Linked DNA regions of Homo sapiens: regions 2, 3 and 4 are each linked to region 1. Evidence: promoter capture Hi-C in human tissues and cell types (Jung and others, 2019). All regions are on one chromosome and are shown on one strand. The core of a region is centred on a gene start or on the middle of the fragment in contact, and the rest is flanking DNA. Distances in the headings are between cores, read along the strand shown. Region 1 holds the start of F13A1 (coagulation factor XIII A chain). Region 2 has its middle 45 kb from the start of NRN1. Region 3 has its middle 13 kb from the start of NRN1. Region 4 overlaps LY86 (lymphocyte antigen 86).

Region 1 (3,179 bases), core at 249-2,748:
AGGCCTTGGAGACCGTGACCTCCACTTTCAGTAGAATGATGAGGCGGAAGCCAGATGGCAGATACTTAGTGATGAAGGGGAGGAGAGGAGGAGTAACAGCAGGAGTGGGGACATAGGTTGGGGGAGGTTTTTAAAAAAATACTGAAGAGACCTGAAATTGCATGAATGCTGAGAAGACCCACTATTAGCAAGCAGGAGCTTGAAGCTGCAAGAGGAAGAGTACGTAAGAGTCACAGCAAAGCCCCGGAGAACAAGGCAACGCAGAAGCCTGGTTTGGAGATGCAGAGGGAGGAGGGACCTTTCCAACTTCAGTAACAAGAAGAAAGAGGAAAAGATAGATAAGGTTGCAGGCAGGTTCATAGATTGGTAGCAGAAAATTGAGAGAATTTCTAACCAATGGCATCTTTTTTTTTCTTCTTTATAACATTGGGAGATTGAGTGGCAGGGTCAGAAATTTGAAGACAGTAAAGAAGGTTAGAAATAGCCATGTTTGACTGGGTGCGGTGGCTCACGCCTGTAATCCCAACACTTTGGGAAGCCAAGGAGGGTGGATCACCTGAGGTCAGAAGTTCGAGACCAGCCTGGCCAACATGGTAAAGCCCCATCTCTACTAAAAATACAAAAATTAGGCGGGCATGGTGGCATGCACCTGTAGTTCCAGCTACTTGGGAGGCTGAGGCAGAAGAATCACTTGAACCCGGGAGGTGGAGGTTGCACTCCAGCCTTTGCAACAGAGCAAGACTTCATCTGAAAGATAGAAAGATGAAAGAAAGAAAGAAAGAAAGAGTAAAAGAAAAAAATTAAAATTTTAGGGGGAAAATTTTCTAATTTTTGAACATGCACTAAAATGATTTTCAGAGAAAACCAAGTGTTATTTTCTAATCTGCATGGCATTATTAAAGATGTTTACTCATCTTCCTTGGGGCTAGGCATCCCATTCCTGCAGGAAGTCTTGTGGTTAGGCGGTGGCTGTGGCTCTGGGATGATTCAGGAATGCAGACCATGCCTTATTTGCACAGGAGGGACACGTTGCTCTCACTGCATGCATGGTCACAACTGTCTGTGTGACCTGTCTGTGGGAGGGCAGACCCCCCTCCTGCCAAGCCACAGTAGCAGCTGACCTGCCAGGCAAAAGCATTCCTTTGTAAAGGAAACCCTCCCAGACCCTCTGACCAAAGGGGACGGGTGGGGACTTCCTGGCACTGCAGGGCCCCTTGCCTGGTACTCCCAGCAACTGGTTGCGGTGGGGAGGGCAGATCTAGGGATGGGGATGGGGAGGAGAAGTGGGAATGGGAAATTGGGAGTCAGAGGGGCAAGTGGGAGAGAAGGGCGCACCTGCCGGGATAACAGGCCAGATGAAGTAAATAGAAAATCCTCTGAGCTCCCCTACTGGCTCCAGCTGTGGAGAAGGGGGAGGAGAAAACCCTGTGGGACAGGGGAGGAGGGTGAGGGCTCCTCTTAGGAAGTTATTTAAGAGCCAACTGTCTTGTCTTTCCCGAGTCCGTTTGAGGAAGTCCCCGAGGCGCACAGAGCAAGCCCACGCGAGGGCACCTCTGGAGGGGAGCGCCTGCAGGTAAGCCACCGACCCTGCACCCTATGAGCCAGGGCCCGCTGCGTCCACCTTCTGCACCTCGGTTTCCTGGTTGAACCAGCAAGCGGCTTGCTCTGGGCCCTGTGGCGCCGGTCACAGGCAGCTCCACTTGCCCAATCCTGGCTTCCCGCCCCCAACTCCGCACCTGCCCAGCCCAGCTTCTAAGCGGGACTTCTCTCAGGCTCTCGAGGCAGCTCTCCCGAAGCCGTTGCTTGCTTAGAATGCCACCAAATGGGGATGGGGGAGTTGGAGGTGCTTCCCCAAGGGACGAGCCCCCTTTCCTCAGGGAGCAGATTATGGAGCTGGAACACAAAAGGTGGAGGGAGTGGGGCCAAGTGAGAACAGCCTGCTAGACTGGAACCCCGCCGGCTTGGCTCCCCACTCCTGCGCGCCTCCCCACTCCTGCGCATCGCCTGCCTCCGTCCCAATTTGGAGCTGAACTCGAGCCACTTCTCCTCCTTAGACCCGCCCAGAAGCGAGGGCTCCTGCCCGCCGCACTCACCCAGCCAGGCGTGCACCTGGGGCTCCCCCCTTCTCCCCCTTAGCACTGTGTCTCCCGACAGCGCGCCACACTGTTCTGCACCCCTGGCAATGCCGCAGCCTACCTTCGGTATTTCTCACTAGAGGATGGCTCTCGCAGCCTTCTCCCTATCATTAACCCTTTTTCGCTCTTCTCCCTCCCTTCCCCCGTCAGCTCACCAATGACTGTAAATATATTTATCTATACTTATGGATACCCATTCACACCTTATGCATCCAAACACTCCTGTCTCCTTCTCAGACCAGACACCTTAGGCGTGGTTGTCTTTTCTCCAGCATGTTGTTAGTGCTCCACATGTCTCTGGAACCATCTCTCTACTCTGGTGGCCTCTATAATGGGGACTCTTCACCTCTTGGGGGTGTGCCTGGTTTTTGAAAATAGCCAAGTCTCCAGGAGTCATGACTGGGTAATCCAGGGGATCAAGGGGGAACCTTCACTGGGCCCAGAAACAAAGTCCCCCTTCATTTGGTCATTTGGTCAACAAGTACTTACTGGGCACTGACCGTCAGGTGTGTGTTGTTTAAACTGGCTCAGTGCCTGCACAAGCTCCAAGGGAAGGGGAAGCAGGCTTGGGGAATGGGAAATGTTGGCAACCCTGACTTCTTAAGCCTATTGATAGCCCTATTGAAAATTGCATGCCCAACCTCTCCACCTCCTTATCCTCCTCCATGTGGCTCAATTTCCAAAGCAGTTCCTACCTCCTCACCCCTAAGTGGATTTACTTATGGCTCTTCTTGGGCTCCACCCTAACCCTATCAGACTATAATCTATCAGAGCAAACATTCTGTTTTGTTCTCTGATGTATCCCATGTACCTAGATCACAGCCTGGCATGTCATAGGCCCTCAATAAATATTGGTTGAATTAAATTGCAAATGTAAACGCTTTAGAAGACAACATTTGTCTGGACATGGTTGTGTGCGTTTATTCTTAAAAGTGACTTATAATCTCATAAATCTGTATGAAATGAACATAGATACAGCACATGCATATAACAGGAAACATTTCTTGCGAAGATGCTGCTGTAGGATTATGGAGGGTGGGGGAA
Region 2 (3,179 bases), core at 461-2,960, 360 kb after region 1:
TCATGGGCAGATTTAATTTGCCCTGAGTGAACTAGGACCATGTCTTTTACGTGGTTAAAAACACTGCATCTTAAGGATTGAATTGCAATAAATTAAATTATTCGTCCCATTTCTTTATTCTTTACTGGTAGTGCTAGACAACCACATTTAGCCATGGCCTTGTGGTGTGAGAAATGTACTTCCTTGACCCTTGATTTGGGGTTTGGTCATGTGACTCACTTTGGCCAATGGGCTGTTAGCAGATGTTGATGCAAGAAGAGGCTAAAAGCACACTAACAGAACTGGGCTCATACTTTTGTGCATCTGCCATGACCATGGGAAGAATACACCCTGGATAGCCAATGTCTCTCCAGCCCAGGCCCTGGAATGAAACACAAGGAACAGAGATGCTGCAACTGACTCAGAGGCCCACAGGCACATGGGTGATATTATGCTTAATTGTTTTCTACAGAGAGTTGGCGGTTACTCGTTATGCAGCAAAGTCATAGCAATAGCTGCCTGATACATGTTGCGTATGTCATATCATAGACACTGTTCTTTATGGTGTAATTAAATAATTTTCGGGGATCACTTTGACCACATTCAGTTTTTACAATCCATGCACTAGCTTTAGTCTCAAATTCACAAATGAAATGAGATCCCACCCTGCCTTCAATGACAACTTTGTTTAGTCTTGTTTCATAAGTAAAATTTGTGATAATTTGTTGCAGCTGATATTCTAGCTGGTTTTTATATTATTTAGGTAATGAATGATAGGCCTAGAATGTATGTGGACAAAAAGATCTATAGTTTCAAGTCCATAGAAATTACTTTTCTGGTTATCAGCATCTGAAACCTGTACTTTTAGATAATTTTACAATTGTTTTCAACTTCCATTTTTCATCTCTAGTTAAATTTACACAGCATAGAAGTGTCTTTAAGAATGAACAAACTTTAAAAAAAGCCATGAACGAACTGAGAAATATACATGATCATTCATTTGGCACCATCTTCTAAAATTTCACACTTCAAGGATAAGCAAAATTAGTATAATTCACTTCTTAAATTGCTTGCTTACTAACATTGTAAGTGAGGCAGTGCAAGAGGAAGGAGACTATAGCTTTCAACAGATGTGACAAGGCAACCCTCCCAAGGGTTTTAGAGAATGGAGTGATGCTGACAGATGGCAAACCTACTGACCCCAGCCCTGATGGCTCCTCAGTGGGGGGCCTGAACTGTCTGACCCATGGTGTCCCCTTTGCATACTACACCCAGACGGCAGGTGGTCATGGAAAATATTTCAGCGACCAAATTTTTCCACTTGCTTTTTGCTGCCCAAGTTGAATGTCAATGGTAAGCTATCCTGTTCAATAGTTATTTCAGATAAATAGTTCTTTAACATAAAGCTCTCTTCTTTCTATGGGGGAAGAGATCGGGTTGTATCATTGTTGTTATGGTTACACACTCCTTCTTTGAGTTCAGATAGTGCCTCTTAGTAGCCAAGAGAACTCTGTTTATGTGAGCCTGATCCTACACTCAGTCTGAGGGAGTGAAGTGAGAAATGTCCCAGCCAGTTTCTTTTGGTTTCTTATTGTCCGGGTCAAGGGAGGAACACGAGGCCCCTGTGATGGGGCTCCCACAGGTACCCTTGCGTCGCTTGGCTCCATTTGATCCCGCTTGTCCTTGCTCCCATGGTCTCTCCAGGTCTTGCATGATGCAGTATCGTGTGGCTAAAAGCACATTAAAGCTTGTGTCTGAGTCCCTGCCTCAACACTCATTAGTTGAGGAAACATGGGCAAGGGACTGGACTAATTTAGACTGGATCATCTCATCTTCAAAATAGAAGCAATAATAGCACCTACTCGGCAGGGCACGGTGGCTCACGCCTGTAATCCCAGAGCGAGATCATGCCACTGCACTCCAGCCTGGGCAACGAGTAAAACTCCGTCAAAAAAAAAAAAAAAAAACAGCACCTACTCTATAAGATTATAGTGATAATTAAATGAGATAATCCTATAAATAGCCTAGCACAGATCCTGATACGTATGTTCTCAGTTAATTTCAGCCACTGCAATGTGCTGGTAATTACTCTTATGAAGGGAAGATGCCACAGAGTGTAGGTGTAGGTGTAGGGGGTTCCTAGGTGTAGGGAGCTTTGGGTAGAGTAACTGCAAAGTAGACAGTTCCTCTTCCACCATCTCGCCCTTAAGGTCAGCCCCCAGAGGATCCAGATAAGACGGCAGGGTACTGAAGGATGTGGTGTCTTAAGTCCTGATCCTTCACAAGGCTCTGAGGCCCTTCTCACACCTGCCAGGCCTAGCAGAGTGGCCCACCAGTGTGGTGGCACAGAGCTGGCTGAGAATTGACTCCTGGAGGAGCAGGATGGTGAGGCCAAAAACATACCCAGCTTCTAGGGGCCGATTTTGACATCTTATTTCAGATCTGCTGAAGCTGCCCCAAGCTCCCCCAGGCTGCTGTCTTTCGTGGTTTGACATACACGTCTGTCATTGGGTACATGCCATTTGGGGCCACAGAGTGACAGGCAGGGCCATGTCACCATGAGCCACACAGCAACACCATCTCTGGAGCCACCACATGGAACAGCATGAGCATGACATGCCTCTCGTTTCTGGGATGTGTCCAGCCCTTGCCCCCGTCCTGTTGGGGTTTGGAAGAGATGCATCTGCTCCTCTACTCTGCCCCAAAATGCACTGCTTCAAGAACAAAACAGCACTGGAAGGACTTGAGCTCATGTGGTTCATGGGCAGATTTCTTACAGCTCAGTCTGGGGAATCTCACCGTGGGAGCCCTGCTCGACCTAGGGCAGGTTGGCTCCTGGCTTCCCTGTGCCTTAGCTTCACTTTCTCAAGCTGACTGTAAGTTGTATTCACTCACCTTTTCATTCCAGGTGGAGGAGCTAGATATTGTGATAAGCGCCAAGGCACACAGCCTGCGCTGAAGGAACTGACAGTCAGTCAGAGGGGCCCCCAGGGTCGGCGAGCTGCAACGTCCTGTGGTACATATTATGATACAGCTATGGAGTGGAAAGGTGGAGAAAGGATAAGGAGGGACCTAGATCTTCCTAATGGAACTAGGGGTGGGGGCCATCAAGGAAGGATTATCCAGGAACTGACAAGTGAGAAGGTTCTAGAAGGAATTCCCCAGGGGGAGAAAAAAACAAGCCAGGTGTAAATAGGAGA
Region 3 (3,179 bases), core at 291-2,790, 300 kb after region 1:
CCTGGATTAGGAAGAGGGGTGGCTTAAGCCTGAAGTCTAAGTGTGTCTCCCTCTTCACACTCCAAATACATCTTGGGGTTAACATACTGCAACCACCTGTCTCTAGAGAAAGACAGAGAGAGATGAGCAGATTGCAGAGTGGGTTCCAAGTTCATGTACACAGCAAGTTTTCCACAGGTCCAATATAGGCCAACCTCAGGAGGCGCCTGGAAACACAAAGAAGACCATCACCCAGCCTAAGAACTCACCAGTTGCATAGTGACCTGACCCGCTTGGGAGAAGTGACTTGAAAATACCAAGCTCCGAGGAACCAGCAGGGAATTGAGCAGCTGAGAGACCAAAAGTGTTGCAACAATGTTCGCCTGAGTGAGGAGACCACGGTGGTCTAAAAATTGAAGGCTGAGGGTAGAGAGAAGGCTTACTGTCTTCTCAGTTCCATGTACAATACATGCCACCTACCATCAGCTCTTTCAATACAACATCACACTTTCTCAACAACCCCCATTCGGTAATATCTTTATGCCCTCTTTAGAGGTAAGGAACCTAATGCCTAGAGACAGTATATAATTGGACCATGTTTCATAGCCAATAAATTTAGGGAGGAAGCCAAAACTCAATCCCACATTGGGCTGTCTGACTCCAAGCTGTGACCCACAGTGTGATCATTTCCATTTTGTGTTAATGAATGATTCATAATGATCAGGAATTCATTGATTGTGATCGGTGTGGTTGAATTTCCTGTCATTTTCAGGGCTAGACAGATTAACTTCCAAAAGTTTATTACCAGGAGCCTCTGGAAAGAAAGGAAATTTATCCAAAAAGTTTTTGTAAAGATTTTACTCAACCCAGCCTCACACCAGGGACAGGGCTAGAGCCAGAACGCCCTTGTGGTGGCTGCCTCAATGCAAGCCAAGCTTTCTTTCCAGCTTCACAAAATAATTGTTGGCATTTGTGGCCAGGCTAATCTCAGAATAAGGGTTATCTCAGTGTTTCAGCAGCATAGGGTCTAAAATGGCATTTTTCAGAATTATAGTTGGGAAATACACACACACACACACACACACACACACGCACACACACATATAATATATAAAAGGATATAATTCAAAAGGATGAATCAGTTGAACCTATTTTTTAAAAATTCACAGAAAACCTTAAGAGCAGGAAAGATGACACCAAACAGGCTCTGTCAGGAGAATTGGTTGCTCTTTCCTTTGTGTGGCCATGGGGTCTTGATGGGCAGGTGAAGCTTTCAGTCTCTAATGACAAATAGCCACTTTGTAAATGCCACTTTTAAACCTTCTAGGTGTAAAATAAAATGATCAAGTCAAACCATCTTCCATTGAAGCAAAGAAAGAAGAGTTTCCAAATTTAATAAATTTCCTGAAAACTGATAATTAGGTCATTCAGCAGGTAAAATAACTAGAAAAGGTGAATGTGGGAACCTTCAGGCTCTCATCTCTACAAATGAGAGGGCTGCCTGCAAGGTAGGGGCTCAGCAACCTGCAATGAGATGATGGGAAATGCTGAGCCACAGTCATCTAAAGGTTGAGAATAAGCATCATCGTGTAGTACACTTGCATTGGGTGAGAGTTTTGCAGGGTTTCAAGGTTTTTTAAGGAACACTGTTCTCATCTGGCATGGGCAAGGGATATCCTTCTGCTGGCCTGGGGAGTTCAGGGTAATCTTATGGTAAATATTATTGGGCTCATCCACCCAAATGTCTTTATCTCAGATGTTAGGGTACTACTCTTAGGCTACTACTAACCTAACTTGGACATAAGAGACTGATCAAGTCTATGCATTCATTCTGCTAGCTGTGGTTCCTTAAAATTAAATTATGGGCCTCATTTTTAGCACAATCTGAAAGAAAACTCCTGAATAGAAGGGTATTTTTAAGTCTTAAACTATCCAGTATGGTAGCCACTAGCCACCATGTGTCTAATGAAGTCTTGAAATGTGGCTATTCCAAACTGCCATATGCCGGAAGTGTAAAATACATACTGGTCTTGAAAACTTAGTACCAAAAAGGTAACAGGACTTATTAATAAGTCTTTATATTTATTACATATCGAAATAATAGTTTTGATATATTGGGTTAAATCAAATACATTATTGGAATTAATCTCACCTGTATCTTTTTTACTTTTCACTTTATGGCTACTAGAAAATGTAAAATTACATATATGGTTCGTATTCTATTTCCATGGGGGCAGAACTGCTTTAAATGCTTCATGGGGGCTTCCAGGCTTTCCAAGTGTGCCTAGAGAGCAGAGTCGGCTATGCTGAGGTTGTTTTCCTTTCTCAAGGATTCTGAAGCTGTACAAAGTCAGTCAATTCCAATTTGCATCTGTCAAAACACATAGAACTTTATAGCACCAAGAATGAACCTTAATGTATGCAAATTTTTAAAAATCATTTAGGAGGTCAAAGAATCCCAAGACAGAATGCAGAATATGACAAAAGAGTCTAATTATCTTACAAGTGTACGAAACAACCTCACTGAAGGGGGTGAGGGGAAAAGGTGCTGACCGAAGTGACTTTGAACTAAGTGGAGTCTATAAGACTAAAGGCAAGAGGAACTGCACGGAAGCACTTTACTCAGCCAAAAAGTTGTTTCCCATAGTGGAACAGGTTAATGATTCTGAAATCACTATACACATGTACTGTAACTGAACAATTAAGTAAATGGCTGGCAGGTGGCAGGAGCCAGATTTCCCACTATTGGAGTGGGAGGTTACACAGCAGTGAGGCAAGGGGAGGAGACTAGAATGTGTGTGATGGGTTAGAGTTGGAGACATCCATATGAACTCTTGTTTAACTTAATACAGATATAGACGGTTACATAGCAAGCTACTGATGGAAATGTGTATATACACATATATATTTAACGTATTTCCTTGCTTAGTCAGCTGAGAGTGCCTAGAAGCAACAATACCTCAGCAGCAACAAGCACATTTAGTGCCCAGATTCTGTTTTCTAATACCATTTTCCGATAAAACGAAAGAGAGCTCCTTAGAAAAATAGCTGATTTTAGGCCTGGGGTAGAAAATATATATGATGAATATAGAGAATTCTGTCATGCCAGAAAACAAAGAAGTGCCACAATAAAAGAAAAAGGTTCATAATTATGGGGTATGTTAAAGGAATATGACAGCCAACTGAAAGAGCTCCCATTG
Region 4 (3,179 bases), core at 355-2,854, 300 kb before region 1:
GAAGGGGATTAGGTCTTGGGGATAGACAAATCAGAAATGCTTCTGGTATCATCGTATGTATAATACTTCATCATCTGATTATGATAACACACTACTGAATAATAAACTCAACAAAAGATGCATGCAAACTTTATATATACTCTAAATCTCTCATTTATAGTCAACACATTATAGTCTCATTATCATCAACATTTTATAGTCTTCTGTAGACAAGGCATGTTTCCCACGGATTCACTTTATACTACCTTGCCTGCCCCTCTTCATTTTAAACACCATCTTAATAACAGTGTCACTCTTCTTTCTTACAATATGTTTCTTAACTGTCTAATATGCGCTGGACACTGTGCTAGCCGTGGTGGAACTGAGGTGGAAAAGGAGCATTTTGACCAGGCCAGTTCACCCAGAGCCCTACTATTGGTTAAGTAGCGACCAGATTACTAGGGCTTCCTCAAGTCTAGAAGCATCAGGGGAACTTGCCTCTTTGGCTTGGTGTTGGTAATTGTTCAACTTTCTGTTACTAATTTGGAGTCAGTCCATGTGGGATAGAAAAGTGGATAAATGCTAGTCTGCTCTCTTTTTACAATGGAAGATTGGACGTTAGCACATGCTTCTCCGCTGCCAATGTGGATTTCACCACTCCTTCTAAGGGAGAGCCTGGCTTAGGGACAGCGGGAACCATGACACTGGTGACACTCACACAACCAGGATACACCTGTTGTATTTCATGTCTGCGGTTCTTACGCATTTGTCTGTCTCTTGACAGGGGACAGAAACAGGGCCAGATGCACAGGGTGGTTTACGTGACTGCACAGCTGCAAAGATGATCTCTGGGACTTTTCTTGACATGCCGCAAATGCTGAAAAGGAATTCCCTTCTGCTTCTAGAAGTCATGAACTAGATATGATTTAAAAGAAAAAGCTAAGGTGTTTGTTGTCCTTGGCATCTGATGTTGTGGAATATGATGGATGGGTGAGCAGGAACTGACAAACTGGCTGGGAGGTAACAGCTGAGGCCAGCCTGGTCTGCTCATTGATGGTGCTGGATTTGAACCAAACGTACCAGGAGGTCCTCAAATGCAATTTGAATTGTTGATTCTCTCATTAGTCTTGAGAGTGGCCAGGGCATGGGGTGTTAGTAACATCCCTGTTTGCTAAGGAAGAGACTGAGATTTCAGGCAGGGAAGTGACTTCCTCACATCTCCAGACTCAGCCTCCAGGGCCCTCAGCACTGCACCCTGGTTGCTGTGCGGGTCTCACCCTGCAGTACATGAGCGAGGCAGACAGAAGACAGAAGCAGAGCTTTAGATGGAGGCGAAACGAGTCCAGATATGTGTGCCGGAACCTGGTCCTCCTAGGATTCAAGTTGCTTACAGAGAGGGACAAGACCCAACAAGCTTCCCAATTTTGATAAAATTCTTCACTGAGATTGTGCAGGTCACTGTCACTCTGCGAAGGTGCTGCTTTTCTCAACCCAAAGGAAACTGGGATAGAGGAAAATGCACTGAAGTGTTTTATTAGGAATTAAGAAAAATAATGCATATAAAGCATCTTGGCCAGTGCTAGGCACATAATAGATAGTTAATAATTGGGCAAAAGGAGGATGGAGTCTATTAGAAAGAAGATATTACAATATTGACTATTCTCATTACAGTTGCAGAAAATGAAACCAACTTCTTTTTAACATTTTTCTTTTTAATGTAAGAACACCCTAGGTTTAAAATAATTTAGTTAAGTTCATACATCTTTTTTGTATTATTATTTTTTGAGATAGGGTCTGGTTCTGCTGCCCAGGCTGGTATCAAACTCCTGGATTCAAGCGATCCTCCTACCTCAGCCTCCCAAACTGCTAGGACTACAGATGTGGTCCACTGTGCCTGTGCCCAGCTTTTTTTTTTTTTTTTTTTTGAGACAACATCTCACTGTCACCCAGGCTGGAGTGCAATGGCACAATCTTGGCTCACTGCAACCTCCACCTCCCAGGCTCAAGGGATTCTCATGCCTCAGCCTCTCCAGTAGCTGGCATTACAGGTGTGTGCCACCACCATGGGCTAATTTTTGTATTTTTAGTAGAGATGGGGTTTCACCATGTTGGCCAGGCTGGTCTTGAACTCCTGACCTCAAGTGATCCACCCGTTTCGGCCTCCCAAAGTGCTGGGATTACAGGCGTGAGCCACCGCAGCCTGCCTTCAGCCAAGCTTTAAGTTAAATAGATATTTCTGAGATGAAACCTAGATGTCAGTTGGGGCCTCCCAGCCCTTGAGATTAAACAGGATTGGTGGAACATAACCTCATGGTTGGGATGCTCTTTGCTGATGGTTCTTAATGTGGCTGCACGTTGAAATCAATAGGAGAGTGCTGTGAAAATACCCATGCCTGAGTTCCACCCCAGACAGTCTGATTTAATAAGTCTGGGTGCTGCCTGGTTTTCAAATGCTCCCCAGGTGATTCTCTTGCCTTGCCTAGTTTGAAACCCAATGTTAAAAGCCACACCAAGTTTTTTTTGCTCATTTCCTGATATATGATCTTAAACGTGAGATCCTACGTCTACCGTGTATCACTCGGCTCAAAGTTTAACCCCTTCATAGATGTCCTAAGAAATCTCCTTACAAACCATTTCACAAGGTGTACAGAATTTATGAAGCGTTAAGAGGCAGCCGCCTCCGCTTAGCCCTTTATGAGCCGGTGAGATGCTCCCGGCCTCTCCCTCTTTTTTCATGTCTCTGGCTCCTGTCTCTACAGGACACCATGTTTCCCCTGCCTCAGTCCTGAGGAGTTGGAACCTTGGCAGTTACCCAAGCGACTCTCAAGAATTCTTTCAAGAAAGGCACGGCCCTGCTTAGGTAGGATTCTTGCAACAGCCCCTAAAAGCATTTTTTTTTTCTGTTTCATTTCCTGAGCATCGACTCTCTGCCAAGCACGATCTTAGGCATGAAAAGATTTGAGATGAGAGTTCAGGGACAAAGAGAACAAAGCTGAAGAGATGAGCAAGGAGAGCTAGCGGAGGATGGGGAGCATGAGACAGGACACGCCTGCAAAAAACTCCCAATGTGGAGAAGAACGTGGAAGAACAGCAGAGCTGGGCAGATGTGAGTGGGCGGCGTGGGGCTGGGAGAGCCAAGACCAGAGAGCCTGGTATGCGCAGGAGTCCTGGGCTGCCTGCAGGCTCGCGGGAGCTCTGTG

Evidence for each region. Contacts are between HindIII fragments. The study calls those that stand out against the background at their distance.
Region 2: a contact is called between a fragment that was not itself captured here and the fragment with the promoter of F13A1 in region 1, in 1 of the 25 tissues and cell types used here (fat).
Region 3: a contact is called between a fragment that was not itself captured here and the fragment with the promoter of F13A1 in region 1, in 2 of the 25 tissues and cell types used here (dorsolateral prefrontal cortex and spleen).
Region 4: a fragment that was not itself captured here is called in contact with the fragment with the promoter of F13A1 in region 1 in 1 of the 25 tissues and cell types used here (dorsolateral prefrontal cortex).

Annotation. Positions count from the first base shown.
Region 1 is chr6:6,318,981-6,322,159 of GRCh38, reverse strand. It overlaps F13A1 (coagulation factor XIII A chain), which reads left to right and starts at 1,498. Exons shown (of 15, transcript NM_000129.4): 1 at 1,498-1,573. All of the region lies in intron 1 of LOC124901253 (a long non-coding RNA gene), which reads right to left. The HindIII fragment of the contact is 8,313 bases long and covers 1-3,179 here.
Region 2 is chr6:5,960,030-5,963,208 of GRCh38, reverse strand. No RefSeq gene overlaps it. Among named protein-coding and RNA genes, the nearest start is that of NRN1, 45 kb to the left of the region's middle. The HindIII fragment of the contact is 6,226 bases long and covers 1-3,179 here.
Region 3 is chr6:6,018,219-6,021,397 of GRCh38, reverse strand. No RefSeq gene overlaps it. Among named protein-coding and RNA genes, the nearest start is that of NRN1, 13 kb to the right of the region's middle. The HindIII fragment of the contact is 3,261 bases long and covers 1-3,170 here.
Region 4 is chr6:6,614,445-6,617,623 of GRCh38, reverse strand. All of the region lies in intron 1 of LY86 (lymphocyte antigen 86), which reads right to left. All of the region lies in intron 1 of LY86-AS1 (LY86 antisense RNA 1), which reads left to right. Among named protein-coding and RNA genes, the nearest start is that of LY86-AS1, 6.8 kb to the left of the region's middle. The HindIII fragment of the contact is 4,694 bases long and covers 1-3,179 here.